Linked DNA regions of Homo sapiens: regions 2, 3 and 4 are each linked to region 1. The links are contacts of gene promoters, found by promoter capture Hi-C in blood cells and fetal thymus (Javierre and others, 2016). All regions are on one chromosome and are shown on one strand. Each heading gives the region's core, a stretch centred on a gene start or on the middle of the fragment in contact. The rest is flanking DNA. Distances are from core to core; before and after follow the strand shown. Region 1 overlaps CLUAP1 (clusterin associated protein 1). Region 2 holds the start of CLDN6 (claudin 6). Region 3 holds the start of ZSCAN10 (zinc finger and SCAN domain containing 10). Region 4 holds the start of ZNF200 (zinc finger protein 200).

Region 1 (3,417 bases), core at 239-2,738:
AGAACTCAACTCAGTTCCTCAGTTGTGCTTGCCACATGTGGCCAGTGGTTCCCGTAGAGTACAGCACAGAGGCGGAACACACCCATGAGCTCTGCAAGCTCTGCCGCACGGCTGCCCCAAGACCCGGCCTGTAGCACCTGACTTACTCTCAACCCATGCCTCATCCCGTGAGATCTACCATCAAAATATGCCCCAATCTCTAGACACTTCTCTTGCTGACGAGTGTCGCTCCTGGTTAAAAACCCACATGTGAGGACAGGCGCGGTGGCTCACGCCTATAATCCCAGCACTACGGGAGGCCGAGGCAGGCAGATCACCTGAGGTCAGGAGTTTGAGACTAGCTGGCCAACATGGTGAAACCCCATCTCTGCTAAAAAAAAAAAAAAAAATACAAAGCCGGGTGCGGTGGCTCACGCCTGTAATCCTAGCACTTTGGGAGGCTGAGGCGGGCAGATCACCTGAGGTCAGGAGTTCGAGACTAGCCTGACCAACATGGAGAAACCCTGACTCTACTACAAGTAAAAAATTAGCTGGGTGTGGTGGCGCATGCCTGTAATCTCAGCTACTCAGGAGGCTGAGGCAGAAGAATCACTTGAACCTGGGAGGCAGAGGTTGCAGTGAGCTGAGATTGTGCCATTGCACTCCAGCCTGGGCAACAAGAGTGAAACTCCATCTCAAAAAAAAAAAAAAAAAATTAGCTGGGCATGGTGGTGTGTACCTGTAATCCCAGCTACTTAGGAGGCTGAGGCAGAAGAATCTCTTGAACCTGGGAGGCAGAGGCGCAGCGAGCCAAGATCGTGCCATTGCACTCCAGCCTGGGCCACAGACTGAAACTCCGTCTCAAAACAAAACAAAAACAAAACAAAAAAGCTGTGTGTGGCTTTTCAAGCCCAACTATAGACCATGACAAGGCCTCACCTAGCAGGCCTCACAGGGGAAGCTTTCTTCCCTGCAGCAGACTTGGAGCTCAGCCAGTGCACTGTGGTTTCACGTACCCTGCGTGGCCACACTCTTAGGTGCACTCCCAGCCCCGGGGCCTTCATTCCTAGGTCTCCTGCTCTGAGGCCTTGGGCCTCAGAGTAACGGCTTAACCTTTATTTCTGGCTTGCTGCTGTGGTCGCTCCCTGACACCTGACGGCACCTGTCCCACCAGCACTCTGCTCAAAGCCACGGTCACCCCTCACTCTCCAAACAGGCTCGCTGCTTCCAGCCCTGCCGCCTGCTTCGGTCTGATGGCGGCTCAGCAGCCAGAGCAACCCTTTGGACGGGAAATAAGCACAGAAGGTTCCGCTTGGATCCCAACGATTCCCACCTTAGAGGCAAAGACAAAGGCTTTCCAGGGGCTTCCCAGGCGCCAGAGGGTCTGTCAATCCCAACCCTCATCACACGGCCTCCTTGCTTTTCCTCAAACACACAAAACACATTTTTTTTCTTCCCCCCAGACAAGGTCTCGTTCTGTTGCCTAGGCGGGAGCGCAGTGCCATGAACATGGCTTGACTGCCTGGGCTCAAGAGATCTTCCCACCTCAGCCTCCTGGGCAGCTGGGACCACAGGTGTGTACCACCACGCCTAGCTAATTTTTTTCTTTTTTTTGGTAAAAATGGCGTCTCACTATGTTGCCCAGGTTGGTCTGGAACTCTTGGCATCAAAGGATCCTCCCACCTCGGCCTCCCAAAGTGTTTGGCTTACAGGAGTGAGTCACTGCACCCAGCCCAAAACAAATTATCATCCTGAGACACCCTGACGCCACCCGCCACCCGCACAACTCACTCTTTCCCTCCCTTGGATCTCTGCTGGAAACACCATCCAATCCATGAGGCCTTCCTGATCACCCGATTTAAGATCACTCTGGGCAGCATCCATCCCCATCCCAGCTTATTATTCTCCACAGCCTGCACTGCATCTGGCCTTCCACACCTCTTATTGTTCACAGTCTGACTCCCCTAACTGAAGAGAATAAACACACGATTTTTGTCCTTTTTGTTCACAACTGTATCCTCAGCGCTTGAATGCTACCTGACAAATACTAAGCTTTTAATAAATAGTTGAATTAGTGGATTGTGACTTTGACTTTATCCAAATGCTGATGAGCACAAAACTGACAAACTGCCCTCAGCTGAGGAGGAAGAAAAGCAGCGGAGCTGTAGCAGACTCCTTCCACTTCAGAGCTCAAGAAATCAACGCTCCATCGCCCACTACAAGGCTTTTGTTGTCCTTACCTTTGAGCCAAGATCAAACTTGAACTTGTTGACATCTTCCTCTACTATTTCAGAGCCCTCCATCCCCTTGGTCTTCATAGCATTATAAAGGACAGATGTGATCTTCAGCAGCTCTTTTACCGCATACCCATCTGCTTGATAAAGCTTCTTAGTGTTGAGTTTTATATGTGCCTTGGTGGCCTATTTTTAGACCAAAAAAAAAAAAAGTTGAAGGCCCTTTCCATGTAATGTCTAAACTAAATCCCATGTAGGTGAGTTGAAAATGCCTCTGCTGACAACTGGGATATAACCTAATAAAAGCAAAGCATTCAAGTGACTCAAACATTGTGAGTGGTTGTATAAACTGGGACAATCTTGATGGAGAGCAATTTGGTAAAAGACATCAAAATTACAAATGCACATATCTTTTGACCCAGCAATCCCAAATCTAAGAACTTATTCTAGGGACACACTCAAACACAAACAAAATGAGATGTACAGGTTATTTGTTACAGCACTGTTCCAAAGAGCAAAGCTTCAGACAACCTAAAAGCCTACCTATATAAATTACATAAATTATGGCAAATCCATGCAAGCAATACCACTCAGGCGTAAACAGAATGAGGAAATTCTATATGTATTTGGAAAGTTCTCTAAAATATACCATTAAGTAAAGCAAGATGCTAAACATCTTGTAGTGTACAGTAAGTACATCAAGTAGAATACAGTACCATTTGTGTAAAACAAAGGAAAAATATATATTTTTATTTGCACACACACACACACACACACACACACACACACACACAAACTCTGGAAGAGATTTAAAATAGTGGTTATTTGGAATGGAACTTGGCCCAGGGCAGATAGGGTAAAAAGTCATTTTACTCCATTTTGTTTCATAATGTTTTTAATTTTTTTTTTTTTTTTGAGATAGGGTCTCACTCTGTCACCTGGGCTGGAGTGCAATGACATGATCCCGGCTCACTGCAGCCTCAACCTCCCGGGCTCAAGCAATCCTCCCACCTCAGCCTCCCAAGCACCTGAGACTACAGGCACGTGTCACCAGGCCCATCTAATTTTTTTTAAATTTATTTTTTGTAGAGACAGGATCTCACTACATCACCCAGGCTGTTCTCAAACTCCTGGACTCAAGCTATCCTCCCACCTTGGCCTGCCAAAGTGCTAGGATTACAGGCATGAACAACCACGCCCAGCC
Region 2 (3,417 bases), core at 283-2,782, 490 kb after region 1:
CCAATCCATGCAGAGATCACTGCAGCTTCCTTCCCCCCACCTCCCCTTGAGATTGCGTCTCACTCTTGCTCAGCCTGGAGTGCAGTGGTACGATCACGGCTCTCTGGGCTCAGGTGAGCCTCCCACCTCAGCCTCCCAAGTAGCTGGGACCACAGGCCCTGCCCCACCACGTCCGGCTAATTTTTGTATTTTTTGTAGAGACCAGGGTCTTACTATGTTGCCCAGGTTAGCCTGGCCACTACAGCTTTGTTAAGGGCCCGGGGGGTATAACAATTAAACCTGAGGTCAGGAGCTCGAGACCAGCCTGGCCAACTTGGTGAACCCCCGTCTTTACTAAAAATAAAAAAAAGAAAGAAGTTAGCCGGGCGTGGTAGTGGGCGCCTGTAATCTCAGCTACTCGGGAGACTGAGGCAGGAGAATTTCTGGAACCTGGGAGACGGAGGTTGCAGTCAGTCGAGATAGCGCCATTGCACTCCAGACTGGGCGACAGAGAGGGCCTCCATCTCAAAAAACAAAACAGGCCGGGCGCGGTGGCTCACGCCTGTAATCCCAGCACATTGGGAGGCCGAGGCGGGCAGATCACGAGGTCAGGAAATCGAGGCCATCCTGGCTAACACGGTGAAACCCCGTCTCTACTAAAAATACAAAAAAATTAGTCGGGGGTGGTGGCGGGCACCTGTAGTAGTCCCAGCTACTCTGGAGGCTGAGGCAGGTGAATGGCGTGAACCCGGAAGGCAGAGCTTGCAGTGAGCCAAGATCGCGCCACCACACTCCAGCCTTGGCGAGAGAGCGAGACTCCATCTCAAAAACAAACAACAACAACAACAAAAAACCAGCAACATAAAAATAATATTATCTGGCCGGGCGCGGTGGCTTAAGCCGGTAATCCCAGCGCAGTGCGAGGCCAAGGCGGGCGGATCGCTTGAGTCCGGGAGTTCGAGACGCCTGGGCAATATAACAAGACCCTGTCTATACAAAACAAAACATAAATTAGCTGGGCACGGTGGCGTGTGCTGCCTGTAGTCCCAGCTACTCAGGAGGCTGAGGCGGGAGGATCGCTTGAGCCCAGAAGGTCGAGACTGCAGTGAGCCGTGATCGCACCACTGCACTCCAGCCTGGGTGACACAGTGAAAATATTTCTCTAAAATAATACCAATAGTATGCCCTTTAATTTGTACCTTAGGACGTAGTTACATAATAAAATGCAGACTTGTTATCTCCATTTTGCAGAGTAGGAAACGAAGGCTCGGGAAGGTTAGGTGAGTTCCCCATGTCACCGCGCTGCTTAAGTGGTGAAGCGGAGTCTCAAGCTCTGTTCTACCCTAAGCCTGGCGCCCTCACCCTGGGTGAGTCTGGACGTCTGCCAGCCCGAGGCGGGCCCAGCGACCCCAGCCTCCAGCGCCCCCCTCTGACAAGCCTGGGATTCGCACGCCCGCTGCCGTCAGGGACAGGGTCTCTGCCCCTCCTCCGGGGCGGTGGTCCAGTGACGTCACCGCTTCTTTAAGACCCCCGCCTCCGCCCCTGTCCCGACACTCGGCCTAGGAATTTCCCTTATCTCCTTCGCAGGTGAGTCCGGGGCTAGTGTGCGTGTTGGAGAGACGCCTCTTGGGGCCGGGTGCAGGGTGGTGGCGGCGTGGGTAGGGGTGCGTGCGAACTCGGGCTGCGGCCACCTGGATGGGCGAGTCCCTGAGGGGGTCGGCCGGTCCGCGCCCAAGCCTCCGAGGTGATAGGGTCCTTCGGGGCTCCCAAGGGTTAAACGCCCCTCCCCCCTCCCCAGGGACAAAGACTCCGAAACCCCTGGCGCCCCTCCCCCACCTGCCTTGCCTCTCGGGGCGGGGCGCCCCTCCCCCCTCCCCCTCACCTGGGGGAGCGGACCTTGCGGCCACTGCAGCTATAGAACCCCTCCAGGGCGCGCGGCTCCCAGGCTGGGGTGGTCGGGTGGGCCGGGGCGCCCTCGGACAGAGTCTTTTTCATGCAGTGCATGAAAAAGAAAGGGGCAGGGGCACACTCAGAGGGGAGAGGCCTGGGCGCCTATACCAGCGCGGCCCCGACCCTAACTCGGCCAGAGGCCTAAGGGCCGGACCTGAGCGCTGGGGCACCGTGCCCCAGCCAGTCTCCCCAAGGTGGTCTGCTCCGCCCAGGCCTGGGGCCCCCGGCTAATGAGTAGAGCCTGCCCTCCGACCGCTGCCGGCCGGGAAAAGTTTAGGTCCAAGCCGTACAATGAAAGTACTCTGGGCAGTGGGAGGCCACAGCCCGGCCCTAGTCAGAAGTGATTCCCTCCACGACCTCCAACACTGAGGGGACACAGGTGCAGGCCAGGTGGCGGTGGGAGAACTGGTGTTGAGGGGAGTCTAGCACGGCATTTTCGTCTAGAATTCATAGGAAAAGGCCCTCAGCCTTGAGGCTATGCTCTCCGGCGCCTAGGGCAGGTCAGAAGGGTGGGGCCAGGGAGTTATCCACTGGCTTTGGGGGAGGAACTGCTTTTAGATGGGGGATTAATGATGCTTTTCTTCATCTCTCCTGGTCCTGGTGTCTGCCAGCCTGGGGTGTGGAACCAAGTTGTGAGGGACATTGGGTGGTGGGAGGAAGCTTAGGATCTCCAATCTTAGTGTTGAAATTAACAAGTTTTGGTTGGGCACGGTGGCTCACACCTGTAATCCCAGCACTTTGGGAGGCTTGAGGCGGGCAGATCACCTGAGGTCAGGAGTTCGAGACCCGCCTGGCCAACTTGATGAAACCCTGTTTCTACTAAAAATACAAAAATTAAGACCAGGTGTGGTGGCTCATGCCTGTAATCCCAGCACTCTGGGAGGCTGAGGCGGGAGGATCACGAAGTCAGGAGATCGAGACCATCCTGGCTAACACAGTGAAACCCCGTCTCTACTAAAAATACAAAAAAATTAGCCGGGCGTGGTGGTGAGCGCCTGTAGTCCCAGCTACTCGGGAGGCTGAGGCAGGAGAATGGCGTGAACCGGGGAGGCAGAACTTGCAGTGAGCCGAGATCCCGCCACTGCACTCCAGGCTGGGCGACAGAGCGAGACTCCGTCTTAAAAAAAAAAAAAAAAAATTAGCCGGGCGTGGTGGTGTGCACCTGTAATCCCAGCTACTTGGGAGGCTGAGGCAGGAGAATCGCTTGAACCTGGGAGGCAGAGGTTGCAGTGAGTGGAGATGGCACCACTGCACTCTAGCCTGGGCCACAGAGCGAGACTCCTCGTCTCAAACAAACAAACAAAACAAATGGACAAGTTTTGAGCCTTAAACTCAGGGCTAGAATTGAACCATTCTACACGGAAACTGCTTGGAAATCGCACCGTCCTGTCATCCTGCTTTTTGCCGCCTTGCAGCCTGATCACTGGCTCTGGCCTTGGACTGTCATTGTATAGGTTTCATCCTGTTATCTTTCATTTGCATTCAGGA
Region 3 (3,417 bases), core at 282-2,781, 410 kb after region 1:
TCGATGGCATGGAGTCCCAGCTGTAGTCCCAGCTCCTTGGTAGACCGAGATGGGAGGATCACTTTAACCCAGGAGTTTGAGTCCAGCCTGGGAGATATGGCAAGACCTTGTCTCTAATAAAATAAAATAAGTGGAATTGGGAAAATTACAATTTTAAAAGAAACAAAAATTTTTAGTAGAGATGGGGTTTCACCATGTTGTCCAGGCTAGTCTTGAACTCCTGACCTCAGGTGATTAAAGAGGCTGAGTGCGGTGGCTCATGCCTGTAATCCCAGCACTTTGGGAGGCCAAGGCAGGTGGATCACCTGAGTTCAGGAGTTCAAGACTAGCCTGGCCAAAATGATGAAACCCCATCTCTACAAAAAAAAAAAAAAAAAAAAAAATGAACCGGGCATGATGAGACAGGCCCCACGCCTCTCGCTTCCGAGACTGTAATGGCTGCCTGGTCCCGCCAAGGCCACACCCGCTCCGGCGCTACAGCACCCCGCCCCGCCCCGGACACGCCCCCTCCGTCCCTACAGAACCCCGCCCCGCCCCTTGGCCTTCAGGCCCACTTCCCTGGGGGCGGGGTTTTCTGGCCCCGCCCCTGAACAAACTATGGAGTGGGAGGAGCCCGCGACTGGGAGAGCGAGGCGCGGGACGCGGGGAATGCAGAGCAGACCAAGGAGAAAGACCGTCGTACGAAGGGAGCACTAGACAACTGAAGTAGGAACAGGATGAGCTCAGGTGTTAAGTGCAGGAAAACAAAGACCCGTCAGATGAGCCAGTCAGGAGGGTCCTGGCCCCAACGGACCGAGGGGTCTAGGCCGGGGGAACGGCCAACACCTGAGAGGTGGTCCTGGCTCCCCGGGGGCTCAGAACGCTCAGGAAGGCACCAGCTGCAGCCAAGGGCACAACCCAAGAAGGCACCTTAAGCACAGGGATGGAATTAGTTTGGGGCCAAACGCTGTTGGTTAGGTCACTTCCCTCCCGGGGAGCCCTTGCTTCGTCATCGGTAAAGTTGGGACAAAAGCCACCTGGCAGGACTTGGGAGGACTTTAGGTGACCGTGTAGATGGAGCAAACTCTGCCCCATCACATCCTCCTCTTCCATTTTTTCCTAGCACCGTCGCTGCTCCTTTGCCCTAGAATGTAAGCCCCTGAGAGCAGGGCCTCATTCCTTCAGTTTCTCTCTGTGTCCTTAGCCCCTGCTTTGTAACAGTGCCTGGCACACAGGAGGCCATTGCAAAGAGTAGTCACGTGAATGAAAAGCCTAGCAAAGAAGCCAGCACACTGTGGGCATTTAAAAATGGCAGCTCTTAGCCCAAAGGAAAGACGGGCAGACCTGCAAGGGGCACCAGGCCAGTCTTGATTTGGGAGGTGGTTACACTCTCACACAGGCTGGGATTGAAATCTGGATTTCTCACTTTGTCTTCATGTCACTGGCCCCGCCCTCTTCCCATCCCGCTCCCAAACTGGGAGCTTAAGGGTTAACTCTAGGAAGCCCCTCATCACCTGGATGGGATGGGACTGGGGCAAGGAACTTCCTGTTCCATTTTCCCAGAGCCCTTCCCCAGGCTGGCGGAGGCTGGCTTTGGCCCTGGAGTCCTCAGAAAACCCCCCAGCATCTCTGCCTGTGTAGTGGGGACTCCGAGTGGTGAGTTGGAGGGAGGTCGGGGTGCAGGCTGCCAGGACGGGTGCTAGGAGCTCGCAGCAGCTTGGAGAGAGCAGGGGAGGCTCCAGGCCTTGGTGCTGGGGTGGGGGCTGGAAGAGTCTTGGGAGGATGTAGAGGGTCTGCTGGGGAGCCTCGTGCCAGCCAGCTTGGTGGACCTGTCGCGATGGGGGCGTTGGGGACGAGGGAGATCGCAGAACTTCCTGTGACATTGAAGAAGGCTGGCTTCACGTGCTCCCAGGTGGACTGATGGGCCTTGTCCACTCAGCCCAGCACGCGGAGGGAGGCCCCTCCAACAAACAACAAATCAGGCAGCTGCCAACTGTGTCCAGGGAGAAAGGGAGTGTTCCCGGCTGAGGACCCCACCTTTGCCGCCTTCCCCAACTCTGGGCTCTCAGGTGACCTGGGTGGGTCTCGTGGCAGCACCTCCACCCCGGGCTCCAAATTAAGCTGCTCAAATGTTGGATGGTGGCTGTAGAGCCTCTGCCTGCCTCCCTACCCAGCCCACCCCCAACAGAGGTGCATATTAACAGAGCTTTTGTCCTGGAGATCTGGGGGGAGGGAGAGATTCTCTGAAGCCAACTTGTCTCGAATTCCACCTCTTTGAAACCTTTTGGAGAGATCTCACCTGGAGATTCCGGCCTCCCTGTGTGGCTTGCCCTGAGAGCTGAAATTTGGAATCTTCATTTTTTTTCTGTTTCATGCTGTGATATTTCGGCTAAGGCTAGGAAAATGGCACAGAGCAGGATGGAGATCAGTTCCTTTTCTGTTTCAGAGCTTTGGCACTGTGTTCTAGACCTACACTCTCAGCCTAAAGCAAACCTTGGCTCCACCTGGTGTGACCCTGAGCATGTCACCAAGTGCAAAGCTTGGTCTTTGCACTTGGCAAAGGGAGAAGTGATTGTTTCGTGCGTGGGCTGGACTGGGATGAAATGAGCTTAATCGCCAGACACTCAGTACCTGCCCGCTGCTCCTGCACGGCAATGGATGAGCAGTGATTAGTTTTCTTGTTATTTTGTGCATGCTACTAAAAACCAGTGAAACGTAATCCCATTTTCTTCCCCCTCCCCCACTCTTTTTTTTTCTTTTCTTTTCTTTTCTTTCTTTCTTTCTTTTTTTTTTTTTTTTTTTTGAGACAGGGTCTTCGCCTTTTATCCAGGCTGGTGTGCAGTGGCGCGAACATGGCTCACTGCAGCTTTGACCCCCCAGGTTCAAGCAATCCTTCTGCCTTGGCCACCCAAAATGCTGGGATTATAAGCATGAGCCACCGCATCCGGCCTCACAACACCATTTTTCTGATCATTTATCACAGACTTTTTCTGTCCTAGACGTTGTTACATGCTTTCCTTCGAGATGGCCAGAATCACTGCCATTCCCTAATTTCTGCTAACAGACACTGAAGCAACTTCAAGTGCTGGATGAACACTCATTGAACTAGACACAGCTCCTACTCCCAGGCCAGGCAGAGAAATACGCTCATCTGTGATTGAGGCACTCCATCGCCCTAGTGGGGAGAGATGGGGTGGGAGGATGGGGGCTGCCTGGAGTGGATGCCAGAGGGCAGGAAAGCGTAGTTCCGGCTCGGGGGTGGTTACACTCTCACACATGCAGGGGTTGAAATCTGGATTTCTCACTTTGTCTTCGCTTATCTGGCCCCACCCTGTCCCCATCCACCTCCCAAACTGGGAGCTTGAGGGTTAACGCTAGGAAGCCCCTCAACACCTGGATGGGATGGGACTGGGGCAGGGAACTTCCCGTTCCATTTTG
Region 4 (3,417 bases), core at 656-3,155, 270 kb after region 1:
TTTTTGTCACTACAAAGAATTCTACAAGAAATTTGTAGACATCAGATTCACAGATGAGATTGTGAAGGTCAAAGGGTACATACTTGTACTTTTAATTTTAATATATATTACAAGATGACTTCACACACCACACTACCAGCGAAAGGAGTGCCTATTTCTCCACCTTCATTGTTTGATAGGTGAAAAATGTGGTTCCCTTTAAAAGTGATAATCTTGACTAGTAGTGTGGTTAAGCATCTTTTTAAATGTTAATGACCAATTAGTTTTCCTCCTCTCGGGAAGAGCTCCTCATTGCCTTTGCTTTTTGTCAGTTGGCAGGGGTTCATTTTGTCTTAGGAATGTATAATCTTTTGTGTAGCTAATCTTTACAATTATCTTCCAGTCTATTTCTTGTTTGTTAACAGAGTCAAGAAAAAGTTCTTAAAAAATACAATCACACAGGTTTATATTTTACTTCAAGACATCTCAGTTATCTGTTTTGCCTCATAATTCAAACCATAATGCTTTGATTAACGGAGGCTTTTTAGTAAATTTTGATCTGAAAAGGCAGATATTCCTTATTTTTCTAGAATGTCTTGGTGCCACACAGTTTTCATACTCGTTTCTTTGTAACATATTTTAAGCCATCGTCAGCCATTAGTCAGGTATAATTAACTTTAAGAAGAGGCATTCATTTATATTTTTACTTTTGTCAACTTTCTGGAGGCTGGTATTACATCGAGAAATAAGGCCATCCCTGCCCACAAGTTGTCCGAACCCTGATCAGTGCGTCACTGGGGAACGAACCGAGTGTGGATACAACGCACAAACACAAAACTCTGTTCGGCCTCCGTAGGAAGCTGAAATTGAGAAAGGAAACCGAGACAGTAGGAGAAGGGCAATTAAGATGTCTTTAAAAACAAGACGGCCGGTGCGGACAGCAGTGTAGAAGTTAGCAAGCTGGAGTGGGCAATGTCGGTGCCCCATCTCTAACCTATGGGAGTCACCAGAGCGGGGGCGGAGTCCCATGGCGGCCACACCCTGTCCGCCTCCGCAGTCTTTTTACTGGAGAACCGCAGTAAAAGGCGGAAACCGCGGAGGCGTCTTGATTTTCCGGTCGGAGAGATAGCTTGCTTCCTTTAAGCCTCGGGGTAGGGGGGTGGGGAGGGTAGGGGGGTGGGGAGGGTAGGGGGGTGGGGAGGGTAGGGGGGTGGGGGGGTGGGGAGGGTAGGGGGTGGGGGGGTGGGGAGAGTAGGGGGGTGGGGAGAGTAGGGGGGTGGGGAGAGTAGGGGGTGGGGGGGTGGGGAGAGTAGGGGGGTGGGGAGAGTAGGGGGTGGGGAGAGTAGGGGGGTGGGGAGAGTAGGGGGGTGGGGAGAGTAGGGGGGTGGGGGTTGGGGGGTGGCGCCGTGGGGGGTGGCGGGGTGGGGGGTGGGGGGTGGGGAGAGTAGGGGGGTGGGGGGTGGGGAGAGTAGGGCGGTGGGGGAGTGGCGGGGTAGGGGGGTGGCGGGGTGGGGGGTGGGGGGAGCGCGGGCGCTGGGTGGGCGGGGGGTGGGGCGGTGGGGGGGCCTGCCCCGCCCCAACCGCCGCGCCTGACGGTCGTCCATTGGTTGTTTGCATTCGAACTACATTTCCCAGCAGGCCCTGGGGTTAGACTGGCCGCAGCTGGAGAGGTGCCAGCCCGTCGTGGATGACTAGAGCCAACCACCTGCCTTCCGTCTTCCAGGCAGAACCACAGAGAGGCTACAGCCGTCCTGGCCTCCCTCCGGCCCTGAGAGCTCCTCTGGCCTGTCTCAAGTCTTAACGTCTCAAGCGCAGACTGCCGGCTCCGAACGGGGAGACCAGGCTTCTGCACCGGAAACAAGGCACCGGTTGTGACGTCACAGCCGCAGAGCGCCCGACTTCCCAGAAGGCACCGAGTCCCTGCCGTTCTCCTCAACTGGCGGCGGCGCGAACGAATAGTCGCCGGCGACCTGTGAGGGCACTCGGAAGGGCGAGGGGAGGGCTCGACCGCTCGCGCCTAGTTTTTCTATCTCTCCCGGAGCCTGAGTCTCTGAGCCGTCCCCAGCAAACGCTCAGGGGCTGCAGAGGCCCCGAGAGGTGAGGGGCTCCGTGAGGGCGGGAACCAGGCTGAGGCCGCCTCTGGGGAGCGGAGCGTGTCCGTTGCTGAGGGAGCAAGGCCGGGTAGGGAGCCTGGTGAGCGCCTCAGGCAGGGGCGCACGCTGAGCTTTACGGTAAAGGTGTTCCTTGACCAGCGGAAGAGGCCCCAGAGTGAGCCTGGCCCGGCGGTCCTTAGTGGGATGTCGCCTGCCGCTCTCAGCAGAGCTTTGACGGCGGAGAGGAGTCGGCAGGCGGTGTGTGGACACCTCCTCGGCCTTGCATCTGCTCCCCGGGAGAGTCACCAACCGCCTCCCCGCCCAAAGGGCACCGGAGGGAGCTTCGGTTCGAGGGGTACAGTATGGCCAGATTCAGTGACCAACCTGCTTTTAGGCAGATGTCCTCGGTATTGACCCCAGATTTCCTGTCTTCTAGCCCATTGCTCTTTCTCCAAGCCTGATTTAACCTATTCCTGGTGGGTTTTACACACCGTCTTTCTTTCTGTCTTTTCTTTCTTTTTCCTTTTATTTTCTTTCTCTTCCCTGATTCCCTTCCTCCTTCTTTCCTTTCTCTTTTCCTTTCTTTTTTTAGAGTCAGGGTCTTGCTTTGTCGCTCAGACTGCAGTGCAGTGGCGCGATCACAGTTCACTGCAGCCTCGACCTCCTGGGCACAAGCAATCCTCCCAGCTCCCCAGTAGCTGGGACCACAGGCTTGTGTCGCCACGCCCAGCTAATTTTTTTTTTTTTTATGGAGTCGGTGTCTTGCTGTGTTGCCCAGGCTGGTCTTGAACTCCTGGACTCAAGCGATCCACCCGCCAGGGCCTTCCAAAGTGCTGGGATTACAGGTGTGAGCCACCGGTACCTGGCCACACTTTGTATTTCTCAGGAGGCTGGACCTTGGCCTTCTCCGCTCCACCCTTACTCCCTTCCCTTTGGACTTGAGGTTTGCACAGTCTCTGTTTTTCATTCTCAGGATCTTCCTTTCACATCTTCCTAAGCATATCTTGTTCAAATACTGCGTTTCAGTTATGATTTCCCTATCCCAGCTGTCGTTTTCTTTAGATCTCATGTAGCCTCACCAGCCATGCCACATATTGGAGTGCAGTAATGCCGTGCCTGGTCTTTTGGGTAATCCCTGGTTTCTCTGTCTACAGCTTGGCTCTCTGGCAGATTTCCTCTAGTAAGAGGTGGCTCTGGAGGCCCCGCGAAACGAGTGTGGTGTGTGGTTGCAAGGCATGATGGCTGCAAAAGTGGTTCCTATGCCCCCAAAGCCAAAGCAGTCCTTTATACTGAGAGTTCCGCCAGACTCCAAGCTGGGCCAAGACCTACTTCGAGATGCCACTAA

What was found. The method cuts DNA at HindIII sites, captures the fragments that hold promoters and counts their contacts. A CHiCAGO score of 5 or more calls a contact.
Region 2: a contact is called between the fragment with the promoter of CLDN6 here and a fragment that was not itself captured in region 1, in 1 of 17 cell types (total CD8 T cells). The highest score is 6.3, in total CD8 T cells.
Region 3: the fragment with the promoter of ZSCAN10 here is called in contact with a fragment that was not itself captured in region 1 in 3 of 17 cell types (naive CD4 T cells, non-activated CD4 T cells and total CD8 T cells); the score reaches 7.1 in naive CD4 T cells.
Region 4: the fragment with the promoter of ZNF200 here is called in contact with a fragment that was not itself captured in region 1 in 13 of 17 cell types (naive CD4 T cells, total CD4 T cells, naive CD8 T cells and 10 more); the score reaches 10.0 in naive CD4 T cells.

What each region holds. Positions count from the first base shown.
Region 1 is chr16:3,507,271-3,510,687 of GRCh38, reverse strand. CLUAP1 (clusterin associated protein 1) reads right to left here. Exons shown (of 12, transcript NM_015041.3): 4 at 2,220-2,399. Among named protein-coding and RNA genes, the nearest start is that of CLUAP1, 8.0 kb to the right of the region's middle. RefSeq lists an enhancer at 714-773. The HindIII fragment of the contact is 1,091 bases long and covers 943-2,033 here.
Region 2 is chr16:3,016,298-3,019,714 of GRCh38, reverse strand. CLDN6 (claudin 6) reads left to right here and starts at 1,532. Exons shown (of 2, transcript NM_021195.5): 1 at 1,532-1,566. RefSeq lists enhancers at 338-933, 1,531-2,127, 2,128-2,724. The HindIII fragment of the contact is 3,533 bases long and covers 1-2,591 here.
Region 3 is chr16:3,097,408-3,100,824 of GRCh38, reverse strand. ZSCAN10 (zinc finger and SCAN domain containing 10) reads left to right here and starts at 1,531. Exons shown (of 6, transcript NM_032805.3): 1 at 1,531-1,635. RefSeq lists a silencer at 509-568 and an enhancer at 729-778. The HindIII fragment of the contact is 16,276 bases long and covers 1-2,520 here.
Region 4 is chr16:3,233,646-3,237,062 of GRCh38, reverse strand. It overlaps ZNF200 (zinc finger protein 200), which reads left to right and starts at 1,905. Exons shown (of 5, transcript NM_198088.3): 1 at 1,905-2,076; 2 at 3,227-3,417. The coding sequence starts at 3,308. RefSeq lists enhancers at 1,587-1,796, 1,807-1,866. The HindIII fragment of the contact is 8,399 bases long and covers 1-3,417 here.